Regions from separate parts of the Homo sapiens genome. Here regions 1, 2 and 3 are each linked to region 4. The links are contacts of gene promoters, found by promoter capture Hi-C in blood cells and fetal thymus (Javierre and others, 2016). All regions are on one chromosome and are shown on one strand. Each heading gives the region's core, a stretch centred on a gene start or on the middle of the fragment in contact. The rest is flanking DNA. Distances are from core to core; before and after follow the strand shown.

Region 1 (3,343 bases), core at 18-2,517, 680 kb before region 4:
CGCCGTTCTCTGATGAAGCCCTCCAGCCCTCAGCTGCGCCCTACCAGCTACTCTCTGGCTAGGTGCCCAGCCACTCTCTGGCTAGGTGCTTGCTACCACCAAACAGCGTCCTTCCCGGGTCAGGGACGCAGGAAACGCACCCCACTCCCAACCCCCAAGGGCTGCAGGAAGTCCGCTTGCTTTTCCTCTCCCTGATTTATATGTGTAATTCGCAAGCTTTGCCGCCAGGATCCTCTCCAGCTGAGCCCCAGCGCCGACTTGAATTCCAGCTCTGCACCTGCCGTGACCCTATGAGGAACAGGCACAGAGAGGCAGCGGCTCATGCCTACGCCCACACCTGAAGATCTCTCCTAAGCTAGCTCAGGACTTCCCTGGGCTTCTCATCCAGCCTTCTTTACATTGCACACGTTCCCGTCTTTTTTTTTTTTTTTTTTTTTTTTTTTTTTTTTTTTGACATGGAGTCTCACTCTCGCCCAGGGTGGAGTACAGTGGCACTATCTCGGCTCCCTGCAAACTCCGCCTCCTGGGTTCAAGCGATTCTTCCACCTCAGCCTCCAGAGTAGCTGGGACTACAGGTGCGTGCCACCACGCCCGGCTAATTTTTGTATTTTTTGGTAGAGAAGGGATTTCACCATGTTGGCCAGGCTGGTCTGGAACTCCTGACCTCAAGTGATCCGCCCGCCTCGGCCTCCCAAAGTGCTGAGATTACAGGCCTGAGCCACTTCTCCTGCCCCTCCTGGCCTTTCAATATCGATTTCTTAGTTTCTCTTGGCCCATGGTTGAGAGTTGTTTGGGTTTTCTTTTGTTTTTTTCTACTGGTAGAAATATTCTACTAGTAGAAGTTAGAGAGGAAAGGAACTTAAAGATACTTAAGAACTGAACTTCATTTTACTTCATTTAACGTTGAGAGGTTAATTTATGTTGTTAGGCTGGGCTGTGTGTCTGTAGGCCAATGATCTACTCTCTCAACCCCAGCTTCCTGCAGGACTGTTGGGAAACTGGAATAAAATCTACATGAAATGACACAGTGGGCACTCATGTATATTTTTTCCTTCCTTCATGGCTCAAGGCAGGAACAGAGCCAGAGAAAGAATCCAGGTTGCCAGACTCTTGAAACAGTGCTCAGTCTGTTGCACTCAAAACTTATGTTTCCTATTTTTCTCTGGCCTGGGCCTCCACCTCCCGCCCGCGCCCCACTCTCTTGCTGTTTCCAGGTTTTCTTCTTCTTCCTTGACCTCTTTGACTCTCTTAGCAGCATGCCAGCCCCAAGGGAAACCCTGGGATGGTTCCTGGAACACACATTTAGTCTAGACCCCCCTACCCCGGGCACACACTCCCTGCATCTCACAAATAACCTCTGTCTCTGTTCTTCAGTTCCAGGACCAGGCCAGGTGGCTTTAAGATTGACTGAGAGTCAGACTTGAACTGGAGCAGGAAGGAGAATCTCAGCTCTAGCTTGATATGATCACCCAGAGACACTCCCTTCCCACAATTCTGCTCAACACAAAATATACTCATGAAACATTGGTGTCTACAGTACAGAAGGAAATGCAGTGTCTGTCTTCAAAGAATGAAAGGTCTAGCAGGGAATTCCAGATGAATACTGATAAAAACATTACTTGAGGCCAGACGTGGTGGCTCACACCTGTAATCCCAGCACTTTGGGAGGCCAAGGCAGGTGGATCACCTGTGATCAGGAGTTCAAGACCAGCCTGGCCAACATGGTGAAACCACATCTCTACTAAAAATACAAAAATTAGCCGGGCATGGTGGTGCATGCCTGTAGTCCCAGCTACTCGGGAGGCTGAGGCAGGAGAATCGCTTGAGCCTGGGAGGCGGAGATTTCAGTGAGCTGAGATTGTGCCTCTGCACTCCAGCCTGGGCGACAGAGTGAGACACTGTCTCAAAAAAAAAAAAAAAAAAAAAAAAAAAATTACTGGGCAGGAAAAAAACATAGTCAATTCTGCATGAGAAGTACAGACCTCTATTTAGAAAATTCACAAGGCTGATAGTTTAATTTGTTCTTTCTATCAGCTATTTACCAATCACTCCCTATGACATGCTAGACACTGTGGAAGGTACTTAGGAGCGGGGAGACATGTAAAAATTATCATAAAATCTTATAATGACTATGGAGGCACATACAAGGAGCAGGGAAGAGTTTCATGAAGGGAAAAAGAAAAAACAATTCAGGTGTGGGAGGAGGGGCACAGGGCTTCCAAGCCCTCCCCCAGGCACCACCCTCCAGGAACCTCGATGTGTTCAGTTATCCCAAAGCTCCCTGAACCCTGTCCGCTTGGGTTTTTATGAAAGCTTTATAACGTCAGCATTCCTTCCCCCGGGGTATAGGGTGGGAACCTCTCTGGGAATGGTCTTAAGAACAACCATTGGAAAGTCCAGGAAAGATTAGAGTCCTGCCTGGGGGCAGGTGAAAGGAGGGCAGGAGAAGGAGAGAGTCTGTTTCCTGTGGCCTAACACACTCAATATTACAACAAAAGACTGTAACAAGGGCTATGGGAGTTATGAGCCAGGAATCATGGAGGAAAACTGTCTATCATAACAACACAGCATTCAAGGTCCTTCCAACAGGGCCCCAGACTTCCTTTCCCACCTGGCTTCCACCTCCTGTTCCCTCCTCAACTGTGCTCCCACTAGATGGGCTTGCACACCACACTTACCATACTCTTTCCTCTACCATCTCTGACCTTTGTAAATTTCAGTCCCTCTGAACAACTTCAGCAAATTAATTGAACCCGAAGAGGGAGTCACGGGAACCCCAACTTGAAGCCAGTTGGTCAGAAGTTCTGGAGGTCTGGACTTACAACTGGTGTTGGGGGAACAGTCTTGGGGACTGAGCCCTCCAATGTGGGATCTGACACTACTTTTCAGTGTCAGACTGCATTAGAGGACACCCAGCTGCTTGGTGTGTGGGGAAACGCCCCCCCCCCACCCCGACATTTGGTCATAACTCTTCTGCGTTGATTGTTGTGATGTGAGAGTAAAGGAAAAACGCTGTTACAGAGTATTTTCCCCGTAAAACCGCCCAACCCAAAAGCCTTCCTGTCAGCTCTAGGGTTAGCAGACGAGCTTAGCCAACATGGCAAAACCCTATCTCTACTAAAAATACAAAAATTAGCCGGGCATGGTGGCAGGCGCCTGTAATCCCAGCTACCCAGGAGGCTGAGGCAGGAGAATCACTTGAACCCAGGAGACAGAGGTTGCAGTGAGCCGAGATCGCGCCACTGCACTCCAGCCTGGGCAACAGTGTGAGACTCTGTCTCAAAAAAATAAAAATACAAGATGCCCAATGTAATTTGAGTTTCAAATATATAAGGACTGATTT
Region 2 (3,305 bases), core at 85-2,584, 530 kb before region 4:
ATTCTCCTGCCTCAGCCTCCCAAGTAGCTGGGATTACAGGCATGTGCCATCACGCCTGGCCAATTTTGTATTTTTATTAGAGATGGGATTTCACCACGTTGGCCAGGCTGGTCTCAAACTCCTGACCTCAAGTGGCCCACTCGCCTCAGCCTCCCAAAGTGCTGGGCAGGATTACAGGCGTGAGCCACTGTGCCCAGCCAACAGTTTTATTTTTGAACTTATGTTTTGCAGCTGAAGCCTGCTGAGACAATGGAACATGCATATGTACTGAAGAAATACATACAAGATGAGTACCTGCCATATGTTTTTGTGTCATTTGCATATTTGTGTGTGATGCCCCGGCAACATGGAGTTCTGGTGAATTCACAATGTCTGGGAGTTGAGCAAGATGCAAAACAAGCGCAAAATAACATGTCGCATCCACAGCTGAGTAAGTAGAGGTACTGACAGCTCTGAGATTTTGTGCTTTCTGTTCAAACTAGAACTTGCTTCAAATACAGAAAGAAGGCAGTGACATTCTCAGAAACATGAACATCCCATGCTGCTTCCCTGTATTGGCCAACCATTTAATGCTGAAATTAATGACACAGAAATAAAAGGGAAGGTAGGACACACCCTAATAGCTTTCATTCCTTCCTCACGCATTATAAGCTGAAGATAGTGTTAGCAGAAGGTGCGTGTATCAATAAATGAAATAAAAACAGTTGAGTTTTCTGCAGCCTTTCCACTGTTTTTGTTTTTGAGACAGAGTCTCGCTCTGTCGCCCATGCTAGAGTGCAGTGGTGTGACCTCAGCTCACTGCAACCTCTGCCTCCCGGGTTCAAGCAATTCTCCTGCCTCAGCCTCCCGAGTAGCTGGGACTACAGGCACATGCCACTATGCCCGGCTAATTTTTGTATTTTCAGTAGAGACGGGGTCTCACCATATTGGTCAGGCTGATCTCAAACTCTTCACCTCAGGTGATCTACCCACCTTGACCTCCCAAAGTACTGGGATTACAGGCCTGAGCCACCACACCAGGCCCTTTCCACCATTTTGGTAAAATAAAATACATATATACATATGAGCCAAGAAATACTAATTGCCATGTGAGGCAATTTTCCATGTGAGAAGGTTGCAGAGGGAGGTTTTAAGGGACTTTCTAAGGAGTGATAGAACACAAGCCAGTTTGGCTCCAAAGACAGTGCTTATTCCACGGCATCACACTCCCTCCTGTTGTAGGGGCTGGAGGAGGACTTGTTGACTAATGGTGTGAAGGTTAATTGGTGTCCCCAGACACAGGCAGCCACTGTGGGCTGGGAGGTAGTCGGTCAGTTCAGCACCGGCAGGTGGCTCTAGCAGCTGCTGGCACTGCCATGAGGGTCTTCCCGATAATGAGACGTGGAAAGGGATGGGACAGGAGCTGAGCCGTCCAGCTGGGTGGCAGGGTCCTGGGGCCAGGATGTGCAGCTACACTGCAGGGCCCAAAACCCAGCCAGTGCACAGTGACACAGGCAGCATTCCACCTCAGAGGCTGGACAGGCAATGGGGGAGGACCAGGGGATGGGAACTTACTTGAGAGCTGTTGTGGTTTGAATGTTTTTGATGTTCCGAATGTGTTTGAATGTTTGTGATGAAATTTGAGTTTTGTTGAATCTGTGGATACAGAGGACCTACTGTGTACAAGGCAGTGTTTGAGGATGGAGCCTTAGAATGTCAGCACAGCCAAATTTGGGGACCATTGACACACATTGCCTTCCCAGGTGATGAAAATGACCTTGACTCACTCAAGCAGACTCAGAAAGCTGGAGAATTGGGAATAAATTCAGGAGTAACCTTGGGAATTTATAATATGCCTAACAATAATAGGTAACACTTAGATGTATTGTGTATCTGGCACAGTCTGATGCTGGGCTCTTTACACACATCATAGAGGAGTCTCCAACCCACCCTGAGATGGGCCTGTGGTTATTTGCATTTCGCAGGGGAGGCAGCGAGTTTAAAGTGTGGCAACTTCCAAGGCCCAGGCCCATGATGGAGATGAAATTCCACTCCAGCCTGAGTTTGGAGCTGCATTCTTCACCGCCATGCTTTCCTGCCCCGAGTGTTGGCCTCACCGAGAGGAGGTGTGTGTGTCGGGGGGGAGTGGGCTGGGACACGTGGTCATGGGGGCCCACAGAGCCAGATGCCGGGGGAACCAGGCACCCTCAGGAGCCATCACGGCTATCGCTGCATGATGCCGGTGAACCCCTCGGGACTTGGCCTGGTTTTCGACCTCTTGGCAGCCCCGAGTGTTCCCAGGCTGTGAAAATCCCCCCAGGTGCAGTGGCTGGCCTGGTCTCCGAGGGAAAGGAGCCGTGGAGCTCGCAGGTGGAAGGCTAGAGAGAGTAAGTGATACGGTTAGGCTTTGCGTCCCCACCCAAATCTCATCTTGAATTGTAATCTCCATCATCCCTACGTGTCAAGGGAGAGACCAGGTGGAGGTAGTTGAATCATGGGGTGGTTTCCCCCATGCTGTTCTCGTGATAGTGAGTGAGTTCTCACAAGATCCGATGGTATTATAAAGGGCTCTTCCCCTTTCGCTCGGCACGTCTTCCTGCTGCTTTGTGAAGGAGGTGTTTTGTGACCCTTTCGCCATGATTGTAAATTTCCTGAGGCCTTCCCAGCCATGCTGAACTGTGAGTCAGTTAAACCTCTTTCCTTTATAAATTGCCCGGTCACAGGCAGTTATTTATAGCAGTACAAAAACGGACTAATACAGGAAGAAAGCTGGGGCTGCTAGGGAGAAGTTAAGACCAAGAGTGAGCCACGGGGTGTCACTTGTGGGGGACTGTCGAGTTGGTGATTTGCACCCCTTTGTGCCAGCCAGGCCCAGCATCTGCCTAGCAGAGCCCCAGGGACCGGCTTGCCTTGTGCAGCAGCTAACCTCACCCACTCAGGGCACATGGCAGCCTCCTTGCCAGCTGGGCTTCCCCCTTCCCCTCCCCAGGGCAGGCTCATCCGAGTGAGTGAGAGCAGTGAGTCCGTGGGCATCGCCCGGAACCAGCTCCAGTTTCTAAGGAGAGTAGAGCTTTTGCGCTGCTGGGAGCTGGATGATGAGTGGCGAGAACTGGCCTGGCAGCGCAGCTCACACCCATCTCGGGGCGGGGGTCTTCTCCCTTCATTCCTGGTTGTCATGACCCTGAGCTTCAGAGTTTCTGTGTCAAGGCGAAGCAGGAGGGCAGAGTGAGGTGACTGGGTTCTGTGCCCAGGTCTTGTGGGAAGATCTTAGGGAGGTTTATCTTCCCACCTGGCCCTTTGCAAGGTCCGGGTGGAGGTGAGGCGTG
Region 3 (3,744 bases), core at 403-2,902, 530 kb after region 4:
GCCTTTCATTGAGTGCTGGGTATCCATAATATTAATACAGGGTCTCCTTTTGAATATCATTCCCTCTTAGAAATTTTACTAAGAAAAATAAGCTTGAACTTGAGAGAGAAAGGTCCATGTCAAAGCAGGACTGCAGCCTTTTACTTTTACTTTGCAGATTACACAACGGGCTTATTTTCATTCCTGTGGTCTAGAAAGAAGTTGGGTGGGAGAGGTCTTCAAAGAAAATAGTTAATTATATTTGGTAGTAGTTCCCCAAATATAAAACTTTCCAGTTTAACTTTAAATTTTTCACAGAGTGGAAGATCTCCCCACAGAGTGAATGAACACTACTGTCCTTCTAGGATGTGGTGAGAGTGTTTATCTGCACAGATGATCACACATAGGAGATGGAATTCAGGGTTTTGGCTCTAATTAGGTCTGAAATAAAAAGGAATACAATGTTAGGCACCTGAATATACACATAGGTATTTCTCCTTCATTCTTTCCCCCTCTTTTGTCTGTTTTCCTCTCATACTCTGAAAAATATAAATAAAAAAAAAAAAACCCAATCTTCATGAACTTTTTAAGCATTATGAAGAAATCCCCCAAATAAGTCCACTAACAACAGCTTACTTGGGAAAACTTTAAAGTTACCAAAGCCAAAAAGAACAACTTAATTTAAAAAATCATTGTGATCCACCATCAAATAATTAAAACTTAAATAGAACATTAGTCCATTCAGTTAGCTACATCCAAATTATCCTCTTCATCCACAGGGACCTCCATCTCCGAAGCAGCATCCCTCAGCTTTTGAACCACAAAGACCTCGACATCTTCTGGTGAGGAGAAAACGTAAATCTCTCCAGCACTACTTCAGTTTAAGCTTTGCCTGGTATAAGAGAGCATGCGCCAAACACATTTCATGTAAATTTGGCTTGACCTTTGCAAAGCCTTGTGCTGCTTTATGGGAGAGGGTGGTATTTGGTATAAAATCCAGTCTTTTCCCTTTTTGAAAATAGACCCCTTTTATTTATGATGATATTTTACTAGAGTTCAGATCGGACTGGGAAATCTTTGTAGATTTTTCTGTGAATTTGTCACAGAATGATCCTTAACTGAAATAAGCAGAAGTCAAGTTGTCAAATCATTTTGGAAATTCCCTAAGAGATAGGTACTCTAAATTACTTTCTATTATACTGTCTACCATCTGAAATATTATATACTCTAGTTTAATTCTTCACCCCAAATATTAGAATCTTAGTTTCCTTTTGCATTTCCAAAGACAATACTTCTCATTTTTCCCAGTGATTTTTTTAGCTTTTAGGCAGTTTCTTAAGTTTTAAAATTTTCATGGTATAATTTCTTACAGGACTGATAAATTTCTCTTACCTTTTTTCCCTCCCCTCTGTGGGGTGGTAGTATGTGTGCAGACTCTGCTTATATACCATTTTCTTCCTGGACAGTGACATAAAAATCCATTATAATTAAATGACTTCTGTTTTTTGTTATGACATTCATTCCATCTGAGAAACCGGTTCACATTAAAAAAAAAATCAAATTCAGATCTTCAAACGGGCGTGAAATAGTAATTTTAAATCCATTACAAACTCACTAGTCTGTGTATGCCAAACATGTTTTAACATGAATAGGTTCAGTTCATTGAAATTTATGCCTCATAGAGTATGATGAACAGCTGTGAAGATAGCTGACCTTTTGTTAGAGGTTATGGATTTGGTAACTTTTACCTTGAAATTCCCAAGTTCTTAGAGGTTTTTGCATGCATATTGGGTGTGATTTTTGCATAGTGAAAAACTCAACATACATTGATATCAGGAACATTTGCATAAATAGTAGGAAACTTATGATTAATGAAACACTCAACTCTAATCATATTTTTCTATTCCATTTTCAATGAGAGGGCTAAAACAATGAAAGAGTCTCAATGAAGTGACTTATCTTGTGGGCCTTCATTATGTGTGATGCTGTACTTAAAACTTTATAAAATTTTGTTATGACCTTGTTTCTAGTCTAACCTCTTTAGTAGCTGTATTTTCAGTCTTTTTAGAACAATTTCTAGCTTAATAGCAGTATTCAGGAATGCTCTTTATTTGATAACTAAATGTGTTCACAGAGTATTAGAATTGTAATGGTAGATTTAGTATGGTTATGAAAGGGATGTTTATAATTTCTTTAATATTAACTTTTAACGCCTAAAAGGCTGTAGTATATTTTCAGTATTACTAGAATGATCATATTATTTATTTTCTAAACAAGGACGCTTTGAGAGTGAAAAGATGTGCTATTATGACAGGACAAGAGGCCTAACCAGCACATGTGGTTACCCTAAGTATAACCCATTTAGCCATGGTTATGATGCAATTTTAAAGTTTTAGAAGGAAGTATGTTAAATCAGTAGTTCTCAATTTTGTGTGTATCAGAGTCACTTCTAAAGCTTTCTTGAAATGCACATATGATTTCAAGCCCCCAGAGATTCTGATTCACTGGGTTTATTGTGGGGCTTGGGAATCTGTTTTTTTTTGTTTCAGTTTCAGTGTTTATTCAGATGGATAATCAAGGTGAGAACCACAGATATAAACTGGTAATTCTTACTTATAAGCGAATGTAAAAAAATTTCCTTCTTTATAAGTCTGTTGGTTATAATAATTAATGTGAAAATCTACTTCATTAAATGGGGTCTATTGATCATTTCTTTGTCTGGAATAAATCAATAAATAATACATTGCTGTTATATATGTAATTAACATGTTGTGGCAAACATAAATGTTATGGGTAACATTTACTACCTAAAATGCCTTCTAGTGGCTAATTATTTGTTTTGCCTAATAGTTTCTGAGTTTTAATTTTTTTAAACTTAGGCTTTTGCACTTAAAATAGGACCATATAATATGTTCATTAACTGTGTATATCCTTTTAAAGAAGAAATAGAAACGTGATTGTTTATGTTGTTTGAAGATGGTAGTATATTCCTATTTCCTCGGAAATGGAAGACATAATTCACATTCTATAATCATATACTTAGATTACTTTGTTAACTCTTTATAACTTTGAGCTAGTGTTCTATACATTATTGAATTAATGAAATGGGTATATATGCAAAAGGAAAAGATAATTTTTTTCCAGGTTTCTTTGAGAAATAGAAAATAAAACGAGACACTAGTGGTAAATTTGGTTATCTGAAGAATTATTTGTGAGATAGATCACTGTCATGGAACAATGTTAATGCGTAATCTGCTTATAGTCTTCTGAATTAAGTTCTTCTAGGTCATATTAAGTTTTTCCCTAACTTTGAATAGGTTTTTCTTAGTAATCACCATTTTTAGTTCAGTATTTAAGTGTTCTATAAGGTCATTGTGAGGTATAAAAAGATAAATAGGCCAGGTGTGATGACTCATGCCTGTAATACCAGCACTTTGGGAGGGTGAGGCAGGAGGATTGAGGCTAGGAGTTTGAGACCAGCCTGGACAAAGTGAGACCCCTATCTCTACAAAAAAAAAAAAAAAAAAAAATTAGCCTGATGTGATGGCACACACTGTAGTCTCAGCTACTCAGCAGGCTGAGGCAGAAGGATTTCTTGAGCCCAGGAAGTCAAGGCTGCGGTGAGCCATGATCACCCACTGCACTTCAGCCTGGGCAACAGAGCGATAATGCTGTCTCCCAAAAATAAAATAAAAATAAACCTGGTATTGTTTGTTGAAGCTTAGTTAGGGTCTAATATTCTATAACTATTGGAATGGTTCCCCC
Region 4 (3,749 bases), core at 38-2,537:
AAAAAAAAAAAAAAAAAAAAAGAAATCTTGGGTCTTATATCCAAAAATCTTGAGTCTTACATTTGGTTACTTTTTTTTTTTTGAGACAGAGTTTCGCTCTTGTCGCCCAGGCTGGAGTACAGTGGTGCAATCTCTGCTCACTGCAACCTCCGCCTCCCAGGTTCAAGCGATTCTCCTGCCTCAGCCTTCCGAGTAGCTGGGACTACAGGCGCCCGCCACCACGCCCAGCTAATTTTTGTATTGTTAGAAGAGGCGGGGTTTCACCATGTTGGCCAGGCTGGTCTCCAACTCCTGACCTCAGATGATCCACCTGCCTCGGCCTCCCAAAGTGCCGGGGTTACAAGCGTGAGCCACTGTGCCAGGCCGACATTTGGTTACGTTCATTAGGAAACACTAACTCCTCCCTCACCCCAATCAAAAGAAAGCCTTTCCCCTTGAAGAAGCTTCTTGTCAAGGGCAAACCTTTGGGGTTTTGGGATACGGTGGCGGCTTGAGTTGAAGTCTGGTCTTTTGTGAGGAGACCAGGAACCGGGAGGGGAGAAAAGAGACAAATTCTGAGTAGGAGCTTCGCCTGTCCCTTGGCGAGGGGTGGGGAGGAAAGTTTAGCTTCGTCGTGCTATGCTCTATGGGGACAGAGTCTTCCTACTGCTCGGCGGAGTGTGACTAGCGTAGAGGGTGCTCCTCGTGGGCGCTCCGCGTGTGTTATGGAGGAGGGCGAGGAATGGTGAATGGATGACCGAGGGTATGGTTAAGTCCTCCAGGTCCCTGAGAAGGGTTCAAGAGGCCTGTAACAGACCCATGGGCAAGGGTGGGATCAACCTCCTTCCCACCTTCCACCCCCCAATTCCCAGAGAATTCGTTCCCCCAGATCAGTGGAGAAAACTTCGGCGAGTGAGAAGGTTCCAGGGAGAACCCCGTGGTGGGTGCAACAGGGATGTGGCAGGCACTGCTTGGGACTTTCCAAAACCCCGGCGTCTGCCGTGGCAGGAAAAGCACCACCCAAGCTCAGCATGTTACCTCGGGGAGGAGGAGCCAGGTGGGTCTGTGCAACTCCAGGAAGGGCTGCCAGGTCTGGGGCTTCGGGGCCTCCCCGAGGGCAGAGAGGAGCGCTTCGGACCCGACCGACTCGGAGCAGACCTTCAGGGTTCAATGCCCCGGAACTCCTGGGGCGAGGAGCCACGCCCGGGCAGTTTCGGGCTCCGGAGGGTGGGGAGTCGGTGCCCGGCAGCGGGCGGGCCGTCAGCTGCCCGGCCCGGCGCCTACCTCCCCGCCCCCCGGCTTCCTGCGGAGGCCGCGGCCGCCATGTTGTTGTGGGGCTGAGGCGGCGCCGGCGGAGCCCTGAGCGGCTGTGACAGGCTACGCAACAGGTTCGCGGGCGGCGGCCTGACGACCAAGCCAGCTGCAGTGGCGGCGACGGCGGCAGAGCAGGGTCTCCCCGCGCCTGCCCGCGCCCAGGCTGCCGGTGCTGAGGGACGCGGAGTCGCGCTGTGACGAGCGGGAGGCGCGGCGAGGGCGCCAGGTGGGTGAAGCCGCTAGCGGGGCTGCAGCAAGGCGCGGGGCAGGTGCGGGCGCCGCGCCCGCTGCCCGGAGGCTCTGCGGGTCGGGCTGAGGCGGCTGTGCGCTCCGCACGATGGGGACGGGTCCTCGGGAGTACGGGCGGCCCCCGAGCTAGGCCCCTGGCGGGCTCGGCCGTGCGGGGCGGAAACCTCCGGCCCCGGGTTCCTTCCTCTGCTGCCGGGCCGGGACAGACGCCGAGGGGGCCTGGGCTGGGCTGCCCCTTCCTTGCGGCCGAGCCCGGGTCCCTGGCCGCGGCCTCGTCTGGCAGGTGGCGGACGCCGGCGAGGGTCGGGGGTGGCGTGGCCCCCTCGCTTTCGGGGTGTGAGCAGAAGAGAGCTCTGGGGGCACCCGCACGCCTCCTCGGGGACCCATTTTATTTTCGCGGAGTTGGTTTTCCTTCCTGGCAAGGGTTGGTGCCGAATGTCAGGTGAGCCGCATCCCGGTGCGTCAAAGTAGCCCGAGTCACGAGAGGACAGTGGGCGGATGCTTGGCGTCTACCGCTCGCGTTCCTCCGGAGTTGGAAATGTTAAATTTACCTTCAGCGTTATTGACTTCCAGAATATACAGGAAGCACCGAGAGATGTAATCTCTCAGGCCAGATAAAGTTTATTTGTGTATTTATTTATTTATTTTTAAAGACGTCTGCATATGCATAGTGAGTGGGTAAACCGAGGCTGAAACTGCAGATGGCTTTGTATTCTATAGAAAGATGCTCCGTTTGGATTTATTAATTATGCGCCTTGTCGCTCTAGAATTACCAATGGCAAGTGTGCTTTATTTGAAACTTGTGTTAATACTGAAATAGGAATATTTTTTGATGGAGCCAACCCCTTTACGATAGGAATTAAGGTTAGCATAGAAATGACTTGCTTTGCTCCATGCTTCTAGTTTGTCTCACTAGTGTTTGCTTGCTTACTCAGAAATAGGCAAGGTGTGACTTGAAATTTTACGTTGTTAGTGAGCTCAGTTTAGGTAGCATAGCTCTTGTAGTTTAAAGCTTCTTAAGCGTTTCGAAAAATTGCCTCTCTCCCTGTGCTGGTTTGCTATATTGTTAATCAGTGATAAAACCTAAAAGCTACCTAGAAACATCGCATAAAACATTTACGCGAATTAATAATGACGTCCTTCCAAATTTAAAGATACTGACAACTCTGATGTGTTTTCCTTTAGCTTTTTTTGGCTGTGCCTGTGACTCTCTTGTAATTTCAAAAGTAAATAAAGTGGATGTATTTTATGTTTTTGAAAACGTGGAAAAAATGTGCATTGCTGCTATTTTGATGTAATATTAATAAGCAGTTGAAAAGCTTGCATTTTTTCACCCTTCCATGCATTGATAACTATTCCCTGTGCCCACCTTTGTAATGAAAGGTAAACTCGTCCAAGAAAACTTGACCTGTACAGAATTACTAAGCAGGGAGTTACCATTGTTCGGTACATCTCAAGGCTAAAATCTTGATCTCTCCTGAATATGAGGAGGTGTGTTAGGCATGTTTTGGGGATTGGATTAATAGTGTTAAAAAATTTGTATTTTCACAAAAATAGCATGTACCCATCACCCAAACTCAGCAGCTTTCAAGAAGCTTTTCTTTTTTTCTTTCTTATTTTAAAAAATCCTTTAACCTTATGTAGTTAGTATATCTTTTTTAAAAAGTAGAAAATCATGTAACCTTAGGATTTTTAGTTTTAATGTAGAGTTTCACAAATTTCCATCTTTAGTAAGACAAAAGGGTCACATATTGGCTGTCTCCTTCAACTATACTTTCTTCAGTATAAAATATGTTTACCATGGTTGTCATTTATCGAGCACGTAACTGCATGTTAGACTCTATGCTAAGTGTTTTACATAATCATTTAAAGCTCACTAAGGCCCTAGGAGTAATTATTATCTTCCCATCAAAAAGGTAAGTGAAATGTTAACCTGAAGTTTGACTACTTTAGGTCTCTGAGCTAGTAAGTACAATAGCCAGGTTTCAAACCAAGATCCTTTTAACTGCAGCACCTGTGCCTTATCTGGTAGAGTCATCTTGGTTCATACATTTAAAAAAGAGTTATCTATGTGCCGGGTGCCCTGGCTCATGCCTGTAATCCCAGCACTTTGGGAGGCCGAGGAGGGCGGATCACCAGGTCAGGAGTTTGAGACTGACCAATAAGGTGAAATCCTGTCTCTACTAAAAAATACAAAAAATTAGCCT

What was found. Contacts are between HindIII fragments. The CHiCAGO score rates a contact against its expected background, and 5 or more counts as called.
Region 1: a fragment that was not itself captured here is called in contact with the fragment with the promoter of ITSN2 in region 4 in 1 of 17 cell types (fetal thymus); the score reaches 5.3 in fetal thymus.
Region 2: a fragment that was not itself captured here is called in contact with the fragment with the promoter of ITSN2 in region 4 in 2 of 17 cell types (M1 macrophages and M2 macrophages); the score reaches 5.4 in M1 macrophages.
Region 3: a contact is called between a fragment that was not itself captured here and the fragment with the promoter of ITSN2 in region 4, in 1 of 17 cell types (M1 macrophages). The highest score is 5.0, in M1 macrophages.

What each region holds. Positions count from the first base shown.
Region 1 is chr2:25,038,348-25,041,690 of GRCh38, reverse strand. DNAJC27-AS1 (DNAJC27 antisense RNA 1) reads right to left here. Exons shown (of 3, transcript NR_034113.1): 3 at 1,997-3,343. Among named protein-coding and RNA genes, the nearest start is that of EFR3B, 2.1 kb to the left of the region's middle. RefSeq lists an enhancer at 1-607. The HindIII fragment of the contact is 2,097 bases long and covers 219-2,315 here.
Region 2 is chr2:24,886,445-24,889,749 of GRCh38, reverse strand. The region is part of intron 2 of ADCY3 (adenylate cyclase 3); the gene reads left to right. Among named protein-coding and RNA genes, the nearest start is that of ADCY3, 32 kb to the left of the region's middle. The HindIII fragment of the contact is 4,838 bases long and covers 1-3,305 here.
Region 3 is chr2:23,824,875-23,828,618 of GRCh38, reverse strand. All of the region lies in intron 15 of ATAD2B (ATPase family AAA domain containing 2B), which reads left to right. Among named protein-coding and RNA genes, the nearest start is that of ATAD2B, 100 kb to the left of the region's middle. The HindIII fragment of the contact is 1,569 bases long and covers 868-2,436 here.
Region 4 is chr2:24,358,074-24,361,822 of GRCh38, reverse strand. ITSN2 (intersectin 2) reads left to right here and starts at 1,287. Exons shown (of 40, transcript NM_006277.3): 1 at 1,287-1,519. RefSeq lists an enhancer at 854-1,003 and silencers at 1,104-1,403, 1,414-1,463, 1,474-1,873. The HindIII fragment of the contact is 2,111 bases long and covers 446-2,556 here.